Linked DNA regions of Homo sapiens: region 2 is linked to region 1. The links are contacts of gene promoters, found by promoter capture Hi-C in blood cells and fetal thymus (Javierre and others, 2016). All regions are on one chromosome and are shown on one strand. The core of a region is centred on a gene start or on the middle of the fragment in contact, and the rest is flanking DNA. Distances in the headings are between cores, read along the strand shown.

Region 1 (7,209 bases), core at 1,918-4,417:
TATTGTTGGAATTAACAGTTGAAAAAACGTTAATCTTTTTTTCAAGTAAGAGTCTCAGTTCCAGATATTGTTTGTTTCACCAATGCAAGACATTCTGAAAAGTGCAAAATATCTTAAAAGTAGGTGCTGTGGAGTCAATGCATGAAAAGAGCCAGAAGTTAAATCAATCATATGTTAATACGAAATGGAAAGTTTAATTATGTAGCTACTTAAGTTCTTAATAGAACTCGGTAATGAAGGGTCTGTCTCATTTTAAACTTTATACTACTATTCAGGTTATTTGTAAATAATACCTAAAATTTATAAGCTTTATATGTTTTTGCTGGTTATTCAGGAGATGTTAAATAGGTTATTTGGAGGACAGCACAATTTGTTGGATGATGATGTTCAAAAAACTGTTGAATGAAAATGAATGACGTTCTCATTGTAGCTGGTTTCCAGTTTTAAGAATGAGAATAATACATTTAAAAGTTGGGGGATAAATAACTGAATATATAGTAGTTTACTATTCCCAAAATGAATTTTGTTAAGCATGAAAAAATGTTTATCAGTTAGGCATGTTTACCTTTCTGCAGTGGCTAATTATGCTTTTTCGCATCGTCCAAAGAAAGACAAATCTTAGTTTTCCTTCTTTAGCATCTGTGTAGCCTCTATCAGGTGAATTGGACAGTTTACATTTTTGGTGTCTGTTTATATACGAAGCATGGAAAGTAATTGCGAGGCTACTCAGCAGTGTTTAATGAAATCCAAGTGCTCACCAATTCCACATAATTGATTAATTCACATGGAATACGGTGGTAAGGGATGCTGAAATCAGTGGGAGTTTTGCCTACCAGATCTGTCCCTCCAAAAGGTAGAATGGGTGATGTTTTATCTTGGACTTCAAGACCCCTTAATGAGACCTAAGAAAATATTTGTCTTGTCTTTAGTAAAATTCCTTGCACATGGTTCTTTATGCATTATTACCCCATCATCAACAACAGCATCCAAATATTCACAAAGTTGCTGCATTCTGCTCAGAGATGATGGCTTTGGCTTCATGGGTGGATGTTGGGGTTTATGTTTAGAAACATAATCAATGATCTTCCCCCCCTTGGTAACTTGGGGGGAGGAAATTAAAGTATTTAAAGATACGTTTCAAAAGCATTTTACCTATCTGTATAGGTCAATATTTGACAGATTTAGGTTAAAATAGTTTTTATGTTTGTCTTTTGGGTGGTTGGTGCTTTAACCTCCCTTAAAATGCTATGCAGTACTATCCCAAACTGAAATATCAGGCTCTTGAGCCAGATCTAAATCTCTGAGCTAAGGGTTTTATTTATCTCTTAATAGAGGAAGGCAACAGAAATACTAACATTGGGAAATGAAAGAACAATTTTAGAGTAAAGCAAAGTAGACTACTTTGAGAAAGAAACAAAAAAAATCAACCCATATAGAAAACTTTAACAAATTAGGGTACGCGTTAGTATTACGTTAGCAATTTTTCACTTTCCAATAAAACCAGGATTAGATGCCATCAATATTTTAGATAATATCACACATAACTTGGGACCACACATACATGGCACCATAGTATTCTGCACACATATGGCTACCACACGAAAGGAAAGTCTTGTAAAAACTTGGTGTTTACACATTTTTCCCTTTCTGAATGATTTCTGTGAAAATGAATGTATAAGGTTATGTATAAAATCTAGAATCCTTAATGTACCAACACAGATTCTGCAACAAAAGTTGCTTTATTTCACAGTCATGCAAAGTTAAATTTGACTACAACTATGATTTCACTTTAGGAATTACTGCAGATGGATTGAAAACTCATTTAATTATAATGAAGATATTGAAAAAAAACATACTGTATTTGCAGCTATCCACATGAGGGTCCAGGCAGTTTACAGGTTAGACTGGAAAAAATACAACTTCCTTAAAGCTTTGATGTCTTTGCATGGTGGCTTAATAGATAGCTGTACCTTAATTTTACAGAACGGAGAATTTTTAAAATCTGATTAAGAACAATAGTATTTGTACAAAATTCTGCCTGTTTTGTGTAATTAACCGTATTCTGAATCTCTTAATTTCCACCAAGACTTGTGAATCTAAGCTCTACTTGGTAGCCCTCTCAGGCATTTATAACTTGACAAGCGTGTCCAATCAATAAATAGCAACAACAATAATAATACTAAAACATCCTTTCCCTTAAGATAAGGTAAAAGAAGGAAACAGGTGATGGTTTCTTGTTTTGCGATGGGAGCAGGTGAAAAGTTAGAAAACAAAACTGCGAAAAGAAACAAAAATTCCCACCGACCTGCAGACATTTCAATTTATTTTAGAAACTATTTTCTTGTACACATATTCTTAAGTGCATATTTCCTTACCTCTTGCTTAAAGAAAAAATCAACAGAAAGCTTTATTTTCTGGACAAAGATCTATGTCAATTTGAGAATGTTAAAAAAGTGAACTCAAAGCTGTCTCTTTTGAATCACATTATGACATTCGTCAGCATCAATGACTTTCTCTAAACGAGAAAATAAAAAAAAAGTCCAAATAACTTGCCTTTATAAAGATTCCAAGTAAGAGAGACTTGGCAGGTCTGCGGTTGCCATAAAAAAGATTTCCCGAGTCCGGGCAACAACAGCAGACACACTTTTTTAAAGTCCGACAATGCAAAAGCCAAGCAATGAATTTCCCCCCTCCTTTCTTTTTCTTTTTCTTTTTCTTTTTTTTTTTTTTTTTTTTTGCCCCCTCAAGAACAAATTGTTGCCTCCTTTTACATCCATCCTACCAGAAGGGGGACCTTTCCACTTTCAGATGCTCCTCTGCTTTAATTTCTGAAGAGGAAAAAAAGCGAGCAGAAGAGCCCCGAGATCCGCCGTGGAGCTCTAATAACGCAGCTGCGGCGGCGGCGACGGCGGCGGCGCGGGGTGTGCGAGCGGCCGGGCGGGCGGCGCGAGGGGCGGCGGCGCAGGAGCGGGCGGGGCGCGCGGCGCGTGGGAGGCGGCGGCGGCGGCGGCGGCGGCGGGCGGGGCTCGGGGCGCTCGGCCGCCGCCTGGCTCCGGATCCGCGCGCCGCGGCCGGCGCCTCCAGTCCGGGTCTTGGCGGGCCCCCTCCTCCCTCCCGCTCCCCGCGCTCTCGCCTTTTAATCATGCCCCTCTGTCTGTGTGTGAGTGCAGGCAGGCTGACAATGATTTCCTCAGTGATTACGTACAGAGCGAGTCCCTGCGGGTTAGGGGCCCCCTCTGGAGCCATCCTGATGGCTTTGGGGGCCTTGCTTCCATTTTCCATTATTATGTGGACTACCGGAGCGACAGCGCAGTCCAAGACCTTGCAGGTTTGTGATGAGGAGGGAGCACACAGCACACTCCTTCTCCTCCTCCTGCTCCCGGCTCTCCTCCTCCTCCTCCTCCTGCTCTCGCCGCCGCTGCCGCCGCCGCTGCCGCCGCTGCTGCCGCCGCCGCTGCCGAGGCAGCCGTAGACTTTAGAGCCCCGGTCCAGCGCCAGCCGCCGGCGCCGCGCCCCCGCCCAGAGAGGGGCGCCCCGAGCCCGGGCCCCGCACACCCCCTGCACACAAGCAGCCCCGCACACCACCTGGGGGCCGTCGGCTCGGGTGCTTTGGCTTTTTCTTTTTGAAAGAAATTACTTTAGTGTGGGTTAAGAAAAAAAGGGTGGGGGGAAGGGAGAAAAAAAGTATTTTTTTCCCTTTGCTTATTTTCGTGGCCCGTTCGCATCTGCCTCGGATGGTGGGAGATTTTTCTTTCCAAGACCTTTTCATCGCCTTGCAGGGTCGATTTCCCCCCCTCGTCCCCCCAACTACAAAAGAGCACGACTCGCTTTGTAAACAAATCAGTGTTATTTGTTTTTTTCCGGTGGGGGGGGGGGCGGATTTGTTGAAAAGGAAAAGCGGTAAAGAAAAAAAAAATCACCCAGACGCTTTTCTTTTTATTAGTTTTTTTCTATTCGCATGAACTATGTGAATTTTGATTGAGGTGGAAATAGTAACGGATTTTCTCTTTTTAGTGTAGCTGACGGCTCTTCAAACATTGTCTTTGGGGTTTTTTTTTTAGCTTTTTTTCCCTCCTTTCCTTTTTTCTTTTTCCTTTTTTTTTTTTTTTCTTGGAGATTGGGGGTGGGGGTCGAAGGCTGGGAAAGTTTGGTGCAGCAGCCGCCGCCGCCGCCGCCGCCGTCGTGCAGAGCGCGGAGCTCGGGCAGCCGCGAGCCCCGCGCGCGAGCGCGAGCCGGAGCCGGAGCGAGGAGCGGAGCGCGGAGCGAGGGCGCGAGGGAGGCCGAGCGGAGGGCGCGAGGCGCCGCGGCCCGAGGGGCGCGCGGCCACGAGGAAGTATAGTTTCTTTCAGGGCTGAATTGAAACAACTTCAGCTGTTTGCTTTTAGGATGTCTCGCCGCAAGCAAGCGAAACCGAGATCCCTCAAAGGTAAGGAGGAACCCCCTGCTCCCCGCTTTCCCCCATCCGCGAGTGTCACTGTGGGTAGCGGAGCGAGGGCTGCGTGGCTGCGAGGCGTGTGCGCGCGTGAGTGTGAGTGTGAGTGCGGGGGCGCGCGCGCTCCCCTCCCCGCTGAGCCCCTAGGTGGAGTGAGGGTGAGGTGTCGGGGTGGGGGGAGACGAAGACGGGAGGAGGATCCCCGAATGGGGCGGCGGTAGAAAGTGGGCGAGAAAAGACAACAACAACCGAAAAAAAAAAAGAGAGAGAGAGAGAAAGAAACGAAATTATCCGGAGAGGGAGGAAAAAAAAATATCCCGTCTGAGATCTACATCTGGGCTGGAGGAAAAAGTTTCTGTTGTGTGTTTTCGCAAAGAATAAATATGCAAAACCGTGCGGTGCTTCTTTTTTCCTTTTCTTTGGAAGAAGAAAAAAGTCATCTCGGAGGTGGGGAGCAGCCCCCGCTCGTGACAAACGTGGCCCGGGGTCCCGGCCGCCGCCTCCCGCCCGCCCGCGTCCTGCTTGGGTCCTCTCCGCACGTCGCCGGAGTAAACAGACCCCGGCCGCCGGCCGCGGGCACCGGACCCCGGCTCGGGCCTCAGAGCACCCCTCTTGGCCATTCCCAGAAGTTGACCGCCCCTCGCCCCTACTTCTCCCCGCCGCCCCTGGAGTCCTTTGCGTTTCGCGGTGGGGTCCAGCTCTCCGTCGTCCCTGTTGGAGAGGGAAGTTGCGGGGCGTGCGTGCGGGATTTTGGGGGCGCACTAGCTGGCTGCGGCGGGGGCGGGGGTCCCTGAAGTTATCGATCTGATGGCTGTGTTGGAATGTGGCGAGGAGAGTCACGTGGCGGCCTCCTCCTCCTCCTCGGCCGCCTCCTCCACCTTCGCGAGCCTCCTTCCGAGGAAATCGGGGGCGGGCGGCCGAGGGGAGCCGCGAGGTCCGGCGCTCCGAGGCGGAGAGCGGGGAGGGCGGGCGGCGGAGCGCGAGGGCCGGAGGAGGGGCGCGCGGGCAGGACGGGGAACCGGGGCGAGGGCCAGGGGGCCAGCGCTGGAGGCGGCCGCGGCCCCCGCGACCCGGAGGCGGAGGACAAAGGGCGGCTGGTGCGCCCGCCCGGGCCCGCTGGGTCCCGCCGAGGTCCGCGCGGCCCGGCCCCGCCCTCTGGTCCCCGGCGGCGCAGCATCCTCTTCCTCCTGGCTGCCGGGCCGCGGCGCCCCGTGGCCCCGGTTCCCGCACCAGCTTCCCGACTCGCCGCCGGCCCGGGGAAAAGGGGTGGGCAGGGCCCGGCGCCCCACGCCTCCCGGCCCCCGGCCGCTGTGCATTTTTGAACTCGATGAACGGAGCCCTCACCGCACACACAAAGCCCTTTCTTTCTTCTCCTGGGAAGGGACGGGGTGGGGGAGGGCCTCGCAGATTGGAACGCTTGCTTTTTTCCTAAAGCGCAGAAGTTTTAGTTCGGGAACGAGGTGAATCATTGGCATGTGTCTCCACACAGTGTGTCTGGTGGTTTCCGTCACATGGGCCCCTCATTTTTCTGGGGGAAACCTAGACCCAGGGCCTGAAAGATCCAAGTGTCGACAGTGAAAAAAGAAACGCCACGGGCGTGCGCGGGTGTCAGGGTAACGGTGGACCAGGCTCGCGCCGGCGAGACTTGCCCGAGACCCCGGCTTTCTTGAAAGTAACGCTGAGCGAAGTACCAGGACAAACCTCTTCCTAGTCACTTGGAAAGAAGAACTTTCCGAGTTGAAGTAGGATAGCGGTTAGTGCCTGTCCGGTGGAAAGGGCTCCAAGAAGCTTCTGAAACCCCGTGAAGGAATTTGGGAGGGATTTTTCTTTTCAAAAAAAAAAAAGTTTATTAAAGTTTGCACGATTGGCAGTTTTGTTCACTCGCAGCTTCTGAGCATTTGGTTCACCTGCTTTTGGAGTGAATTTACAGCGAAAGTTTGGTTGACTGTGAATGCGTTTGTTCCCAGTGCTTCCTGAAGATGATTTCTTCTCATGCACGTAGGATTTTATGGGCAGTAAAGGGAATCCGTCAGTTGACGGTATTCGCTGGGCAGGTTTGATAAGTCGAACTGCAAAATACCTGTGCAGTTCTTAGGTTAATAAGCAAAAAATGGCAAGTGAAGAATGAGTAAAGAGGACATTTTATTCTTTTATCGTCATGTTGCAAAATTATCCAAATATCTTCCCCACAAAGACAGCATCTGTTTCAACTGCTAAATTCTAAATAAAATATTTACACTAAAAACAAAGATTTAGCTTCCATATTCTGTGTGGGCGCGGAACACAGTGCTGTTCTCTCCTATCAGCTGCTTGGACAACTCCCAAAAGAGCGAATGGCCTCAGGTGGGCTGGCTGGGCTTTTGGGGATGAGAAGCTGAAGACAGGAATAAAAATAGTACAGTCCTCACTGAAGAGCGGATTGTTTTTCTTCAGGGTATGCCTTGAAAAATTCATATGTAGATGAGCTATACCAAACGAATCATTTTGATATTAGTAGCGGTTTTGAAGAAGAGGAAGGGCATTCTGGGTGGCTCTTGTTAAATACCTAGCCTTCTCTTCAGTATTTTGATTTCCCTATGTCTTCTTGGAAGGGTCTCCAATTTTTCAAAATGTGTTGTAGGAGTGTTCTGAGTATGCGGATTGTCCATTATATCATTCAGAAGGTCACACTTGGATCATAGAAAAGCCAGAGAGGTGTTATTATGACCTGTGTTCTGGTATCATATTAGTAGTAATATGCAGTGAACAACACTTTGCTATCAGCAGGTATAGAAAGG
Region 2 (7,125 bases), core at 4,218-6,717, 250 kb after region 1:
AAGTCAAGTTGGCCTAAGCACAAAGTCTGATATTTTGCAGAAGATGAGATCATATTTAGACCTACTCGGGTGAATTAAGGCCATAGTGATTACTTTGATTTGGAATTTCCCTGCTGTTATCAGTTTAAGATAGAATTTCTAATATTCATTTCAAAAGAGAGATGCCTAGATTCTAGGTCCTGTGTGTCACTGGTTGCATTCTTCCCCTTCCTCTCGATGTTCCCTTTGGAGACGTGTCTAGCTGAATTGTGAGTATCTGGTAGAGGAAGAAGAAGATTCAGACTGAACTACATGAGCCAGAATGCCAGTCTGTCTCTTCATCAATCCCATGCTGTCCTATTGAGAGAGCAATAGTTATGTCTAATTCTTTGAGAATTATTTTATTTTTAATTCTTTAAAATAGCCCAGGGCAAAATTTAATTAAGAAAACATCTCTTCCCGTCCCAGAGAAAAAAAATTATTTTGCCTGGGCATTTTTCTCTAAATATAAGTATCTATGCATGCTGAATTATTGCAATTGGCTGAAAATATGCTGAAATTATGTATTCACTTTTTTATTTTCTGCACATTCATACCATGCTAATCTCTATTTACCCACTCTTGTTTCAATTTCTGAACTGTCTTTTCTCCTGTATTCTGAGATGAGAACTTTTGTTACTGGTTCAGATCAGACCCTACGTCTCCTGTTTTACGCAACAATTACAGTTCCACAAAATTATATAAAGGTATTCGCTTTTCTCCAGATTGTCAAATTTAAAAATCCTCATGCTAATCTTTGTCTTTAAGGAACCAAACATTGCTACTGCTTTCCAGAAGCAAAGAAAAGGGCAAGAGGCCAGGTCATCCCTATAGGTCACTTTCTGTCCTGGACTTTTATGATTTCTTTACCAAGAATGAAACCAATAAGTGAGCTAAATATGACTTGCTTTCAGAAAGGAAATAAACTTTACAGTCCTTGGCATCAGACTTCTACTTAGATTGTTTAAGACAGCATTGGAATTCTGTGCTTATTGTATCACATATCATGCAAGGCAAAACAGAGCCTTTAAATATATAAAATGTTTTAAGGCCATTGACAGATATTTTAGTGAGATTATGTCAGTAGATTTCCTTTTGTGTTAGGAGAGTCATTATCAGCCTTTATATTGACATAGTATACAATTTTTAAATTTTTTAAGTGGATCTTGAATGAGCTGGTTCAGGTTATAGAAAAATTGTCATAAAGATAGGGGATTAAAAATTTATTGTGCCCCAGACATATTTATAATTTGACATTATAGACTTAGAAATATTTAATAGCTTTAAAGAAGGTAATATAAGGAATTATCATCGGAGAAAGAGCACTCCATAACTATTATGTCTCATTCTTTATTTAACAGATAGACTTATTAACTAATCCATGGTTTTTGTTGGGCCCTTTTTCATAGTCTTTAGCTTTGGTTTTTGACATAGCAAAAATACCCAGAGACATCTACTTCTTCATCACACTTCATAACTAAGTAGAAATGAGAAAGAAATCTTTCTTACCACGAGTCTTTTGTCTTTCCTTCCTCCCTTCCTCCCTCCCTTCCTTATTTCCTCCTTCCCTCCCTCCCTCCCTCCCTTCCTTCCTCTCACCCTTCTTTCTTCCCTCCCTTACTCCTTCTCTCTTCCCATCACAGAGGATAACAACTGTCTCACTTAGATAGCTCTTGATTGACAGAAAACAGCAGAAGGAACTAGAAATGAGTATGATTCATTGATATGCCAGTAACATCTTGGCTTCAGCATACAGTGTCTAGATGTGCTAGTGTATCCAGAATGGTGCCCAAGAGAGAAAAGTAGGTTAGGAATATATTGAGCTGACCTATTTTCCATACGTAAGTATGGGGTTATGTTTCTAGTAAGCCACACACTTTGGGTTATGCATGCAGTCTCGGTTTCTTCTCAAACACTCAATTTAACACTATATCGGGGAATGATCCAGGTACTTGAAGAAGTACAGTTAGCTATAGGCAGAATAGAATTAAGAAATCAGTGTTTGTTTTTGAGTAATTATAACTCCATAAAGGAGCACTCAAGCCCAGCCTCCACAGGGTTTTGGGTAACAGTTTAAGCAAATCATTGGGTTATTGTCATACAGAGCATCAGCGTTCAGCCACTCCATCACAGGTTGTATAATCGGGAAGATTTCCTTCAGACTGACAGCTCAGACCCAAGTGCTTTACCTAGCCCCTCTAGGAGCACCATCTAGGGAGATAAAATTCCCCATATCTAGAGATATCTCTATCTCTAGTTATGGGAAATTTAACTTCCTATAACCAAATTTTCCAGCCTTCCAACAGGTGCATCACATCAACTTAGGCTTCCCTTCCCTAAAAGGAGAAGAAAAGCTTTCAAGGGGTGAGAGAGACTTTAACAGTAGCTGCTTAAGACATAGGGGGATGAGGTGGATTTGAATAAATTCAGGCCTTGATTTGTCAGGGAGCAAAGGCGTCACCAGGTTGGCATGGAAATAGAAATAGCTCCTTGCACATCAATAAGAGATCTAGAAAACAGTAACTGCTGTTTTGTTTCCTTGACAACTTACATTGTACTAAGGGAGGAAATAACTTCTTTTTTAAGTGAAGGTTGGTGGGACAGTATAATCTTGGATTCGGGAAGCCTGAATTCTGGTGCTGGCCATGACCATAAGGCTTTTCTGTCATGGGTGTGTTGGTTAATATCTATAGTCTCAGGCCATGCATGGCAGCACACACCTGTAGTCCTGGCTATTCAAGAAGGATTGCCTGAGCCGAGGAGCTTGAGGCTGCAGGGAGCTATGAGCACATATACTGTACTCTAGCCTGGGCAACAGAGCAAAGACCCCTTTACTCTAAAAAATAAAAATAAAAACTATATATATATATAGTCTCAATTTTCTCATCTTTTAAAAAAGTCCTTAGTTAGAGCATCTCCAAGCTCCTTCTAAATTTTATCCAGTGCTCCAGTGTTCAGCCAAATGTACCATGTTGACTCTTTCCCTTTCTTTTTTCCTCCACTCTCCTCGTTGCTTGCTTCTCCTCAATTTTACATGAAAATCTTTGAAAATACTTAAGCCAAAAAATACAGTTTTGTGAGGTATTTATTAGAATGTCTTTTAATTTAAAAAATTATCTTTTAATTTAAAAAAAATGCCAAATAGTAGCCAGCCAATTCTTGTGTGCCTTCCCAGTCGTGTGTCCCATATCACATTTCAGATTTCTCTGAGCATTAGGAGTGTTATTTGTTTTTGGAGGGATATTAATTGCTTTATAGTAGTTTTAGGCCATCGTCTATTTTTCTTCAAACATAAAAGCTTTATCCAAAATATAGTCTGGAAGAAGACACTACATGGATTCATGTGCTGTACATTTATTTTTCTTTTAAGTGTATCATTGCTGTATTTTCCTTTGCTGATATATTTTGACACCTTATAGTTGTAACCTGCTGTTCTCTTTAATTGCTTATTGTTATTAATTATATAGTGGTAACGTAGTTGGCTGCTTGAGCCACTTGGCTGTAAAGAAATTCATTTATCATTATTGCTGTTGGAGCTACAGAAAATTACCAGCATTCTATCCAGAGATGAATGTTGTTGAGTTCACATCCAGTAAAATTTTGAACATGGGTCAAATCTGTAAGTGTTTTCTCCCTGCTGCTTCCCTTTGCTTCTGCTAGTCTGTGCTTTGAGTACCTACATTTTCTTTCATCTTTTGTTTCAGTCCTTGATTTGCTGCCCTTTCAGTGAAGTTTACATATTGTTCTCAGCACTCCATTCAGTGGCCTGTCCAAAGAATACCTTTTCTTTTCTCCTCATATTCCTGACTATAAATTTTCCTTCCTAGAATTTATTTATAGTAAGATTCCTGCCTTTACAACTTTGTTACATGCACATTTCATTTTAAATCATTAATGCTGACTGGAGATTGCCTTAAGCCATGCCTTTCTGTGAAAGGGGTCATCATGCCCTTAAAAACATCTACAAACCCCTTCTCCTCATTCTGTAAATGATCAGCTGTACAGCTGTCCGTTGGGATATGCAGGGGATTGATTCTAGGATACCCACTTCCATGCATGCACAAGTCCCTCAGTATATGTGGAACCCCTATATGCAGGTTTCACATCCCGTGAGTACTATATTTTCAGTCCACATTTGGTTGAAAAAAATCTGCAGGTAAGTGGACCCACACAGTTCTAACCATGTTGTTCTAGGGCCAACTGTATTTAGATTCCTAAATTGGAAAACTGCCAGCATACTGAATGACTGAATGAAAGAATGAATGATGTACACATGCAAACATGGGGGCGTTTATTTACACACATCCAGCTATTTACTGATATCTGTAGTTTCTTTAAAATCTGGGTTTAATTTAGAATACATGACCCCACAGCTGCATGTGCCACAGAACAGCCAGGCCAGAATGCTCCTCTGCCTTCTGGCAGCATGACATTAAATTCACACTAGTTAAGCCAACTTAAATTGAGCCTCCTTGAACCTTCCTAAATAAAACTAGTGGCCTTAATTACAATCAGGCAATTTAAAGGTTATGGAGCTCTAACTAGTACTGCAGTATATCACTTTAATAATGCACAGGCAAATTTCTCTAAGGGGTGGCATCGTTTGATTAGAAGAATTCAAGTTTCACAGCACATTTCCAATAAACTGTTTTTAGAAATCTTATTGCGTTTATTGTGCCATTACCTTTTTTTTTTTTAATTCTTCAAGGCCAAGTTTCTAAGGTCACACCAATAGAACAATAAAAATGTGACTCATTTGCAAATAGCATGCAGTATTGTGATTTTTGCATTGCTGCTTAATGGTTTTCTTACCATTGCCACAAAGTGAAAGGAGCAGGATTGAGCCCCTTGGAAATTAGAGAGATTTTGGCCCCCTTAACACCCCCATGTGCCATTGCAGATATGACGTGTGCTTTTGTGGTGAACTGTGATTCTATTAATAAACAGAATCAGAAGGAGAGAAGATGTCATCTTTGCAATAAGTAATCAATAATATAGTTTCTTAGAAAGAAAATTAGCTTTGAAAATGCTTGACTTAGTTTCTCATCTAAACCTGTGAGCACTTAAAACCCATGGTTGTCAAGGACCATAACATTTGCAGAAGCTGTTGAACCTCACTCAATTTCTTGTGTTTGTTTGATTTGCTTTTGTTGTTTAAAAAATCATCAGCAGTAGCAAGCCGTGCTTTCTAGCAAGGATAAACAGCTTTTCAGTGTTTGGAGACTTTCTCCTTCAGATAACTAGTGGCTTTATGCCAAGAAGAAGAAGATTAAAAAAAAAAAAAAAGAAAGAAAGAAAAAAAGAAAAGGCCCTGACCCTTGCCATAAACTCAGCACAGCAACAGGAAAACATGCCTGATGAGTGCCGTGTCCAGCACATGGCTTGTGTTGCGGGCCCCCCACTGTGTGGAATTAATATTGACTCTTGCACTGTCTCAGTTCTCAAAGATGTTTTCCCAATAGATTTAACTTTAAAGCAGGTTACATTTAGTTTATGCTGCATGAACTATCCTCTTTCGATCTTACCAATTTGTGGGGGTTTTGTACAGTACTCAAAGGTAAATATACCTGTACTTCCACTACTGCCGGAAGTCCCAGATGTAAGGGCATTAATAGAAGGTATTTGATATCAAACAAGAGAAATTTTAAACAAAGAGTATAATAAATGCATATACATCTGGTTTAGCCAATTAATTAAAAGAATGGAGCTTTGTAACATGAGAATACAGACAATTAATAAAAATTGTTTATTGGTCATGGATGTACGGTATAGAGACTTCTCTATGACTTGGGACAAATAAAAGGTAATTATCCCTTCTTTGATATGGCACTTTTTGGTATTTCAGATATAAGATACATAATAATATTTTTCTTCTGGAAATAAGGGATAAGTTTTGGCTTATCAGTTTCTTGCCAGGGATAAGTTGGCAAATTAGACAGCTACTTTGTTAATGCTTTATTTGCCAGAGTATTTTCATCTTATTTTGGGAAATAAAGAAGCCAAGCACTGTAAGGTGGATTTTGCCAGTCCGCTATGTTATATGCACAGGGTTTAATGCACAAGGGAACGGAGCAAAATTTTGAAACCCAACTGACAAACAATAGATATTGTTTTACCATCAGTCTTGGCATTTTATTCTGATGAAATTAAATATAGGGTTTGCTAAGTAGTTATTTCCCATGAATTCAATAAATATTTATTGAGTTCCAGCTATGAGCCATGTACTGTTCTAGGTACTTCGTGTACATCAATGAGCAAAACAGACAAATACCCTTGCCCTCCTGGAACTTGCACTGTAGCAAGAATAGGTGAATAACCCCAAACTGAGTTCTCAACACTCTTATGGCATTGAGATGGTCAGAGCTGCCACACACCACTCTTTGTAGGCAAGGCAAAAACTGAAATGCGTTGCTGAATTGGAAACACTGCTGTCTTCAATCATTCCATTCATCTAGTCTGTTATGTGAAATGGAAACAAATGTTTTATACTTGTATTTGCGTGCTCACAAACTTTCTTTCAAGTCAGAGAACAGAACAGCACTAAAGATTAGGTGACAAAAATTTTTTGAAAGAAAAAATGTACTCTCCTGTATTCAAGTGGGTATAAATGAGGGGGAGAATTGACTGTTCAAGTAAACTGGATCCTTTTCAGTGCAACACAGTGGCACTGTGTTAACAACATCCAAGTTGTTTAAAAGCAACTCCAATATCTAATCAAACCTGGAGGACATACATCAGACTTAGTTGGTCTCAGTCCTCACTCCCGTCCTTATCCCTGCCCTTGCCTTTTCCAGAATATTTGCTAAGAAATATCCACTACTTTCTTCTTTTCTTGGCTAACAATTTTTTTCTTGGGATGGGGAGAGGAAGAATCAAAGTGATTTTATCAGTGCCCTTCCAAAACTGGTGTTTGCAGTTTTTTTTTAATAAAAAAAAAATGAGGGCAAAGTTTTACCTTTAAAGCTATTTGTAGGCACCATGTTTTCTCTGAGACTTCAACCATGGGGTCCATGTTTAGATTCAGAATGTGAAGAAGAAAAGAAGGAACTAGAGGAGCTAATGTACTGGCCAGGTTTGAAAAACATTGTAGTCTGTGTGCTTATCCCC

The links. The method cuts DNA at HindIII sites, captures the fragments that hold promoters and counts their contacts. A CHiCAGO score of 5 or more calls a contact.
Region 2: a contact is called between a fragment that was not itself captured here and the fragment with the promoter of ZNF521 in region 1, in 1 of 17 cell types (megakaryocytes). The highest score is 5.1, in megakaryocytes.

Annotation. Positions count from the first base shown.
Region 1 is chr18:25,348,124-25,355,332 of GRCh38, reverse strand. ZNF521 (zinc finger protein 521) reads left to right here and starts at 3,167. Exons shown (of 8, transcript NM_015461.3): 1 at 3,167-3,328; 2 at 4,386-4,426. The coding sequence starts at 4,387. RefSeq lists a silencer at 3,072-3,141. The HindIII fragment of the contact is 3,815 bases long and covers 2,408-6,222 here.
Region 2 is chr18:25,098,272-25,105,396 of GRCh38, reverse strand. The region is part of intron 5 of ZNF521 (zinc finger protein 521); the gene reads left to right. Among named protein-coding and RNA genes, the nearest start is that of LINC01894, 110 kb to the right of the region's middle. The HindIII fragment of the contact is 4,297 bases long and covers 3,319-7,125 here.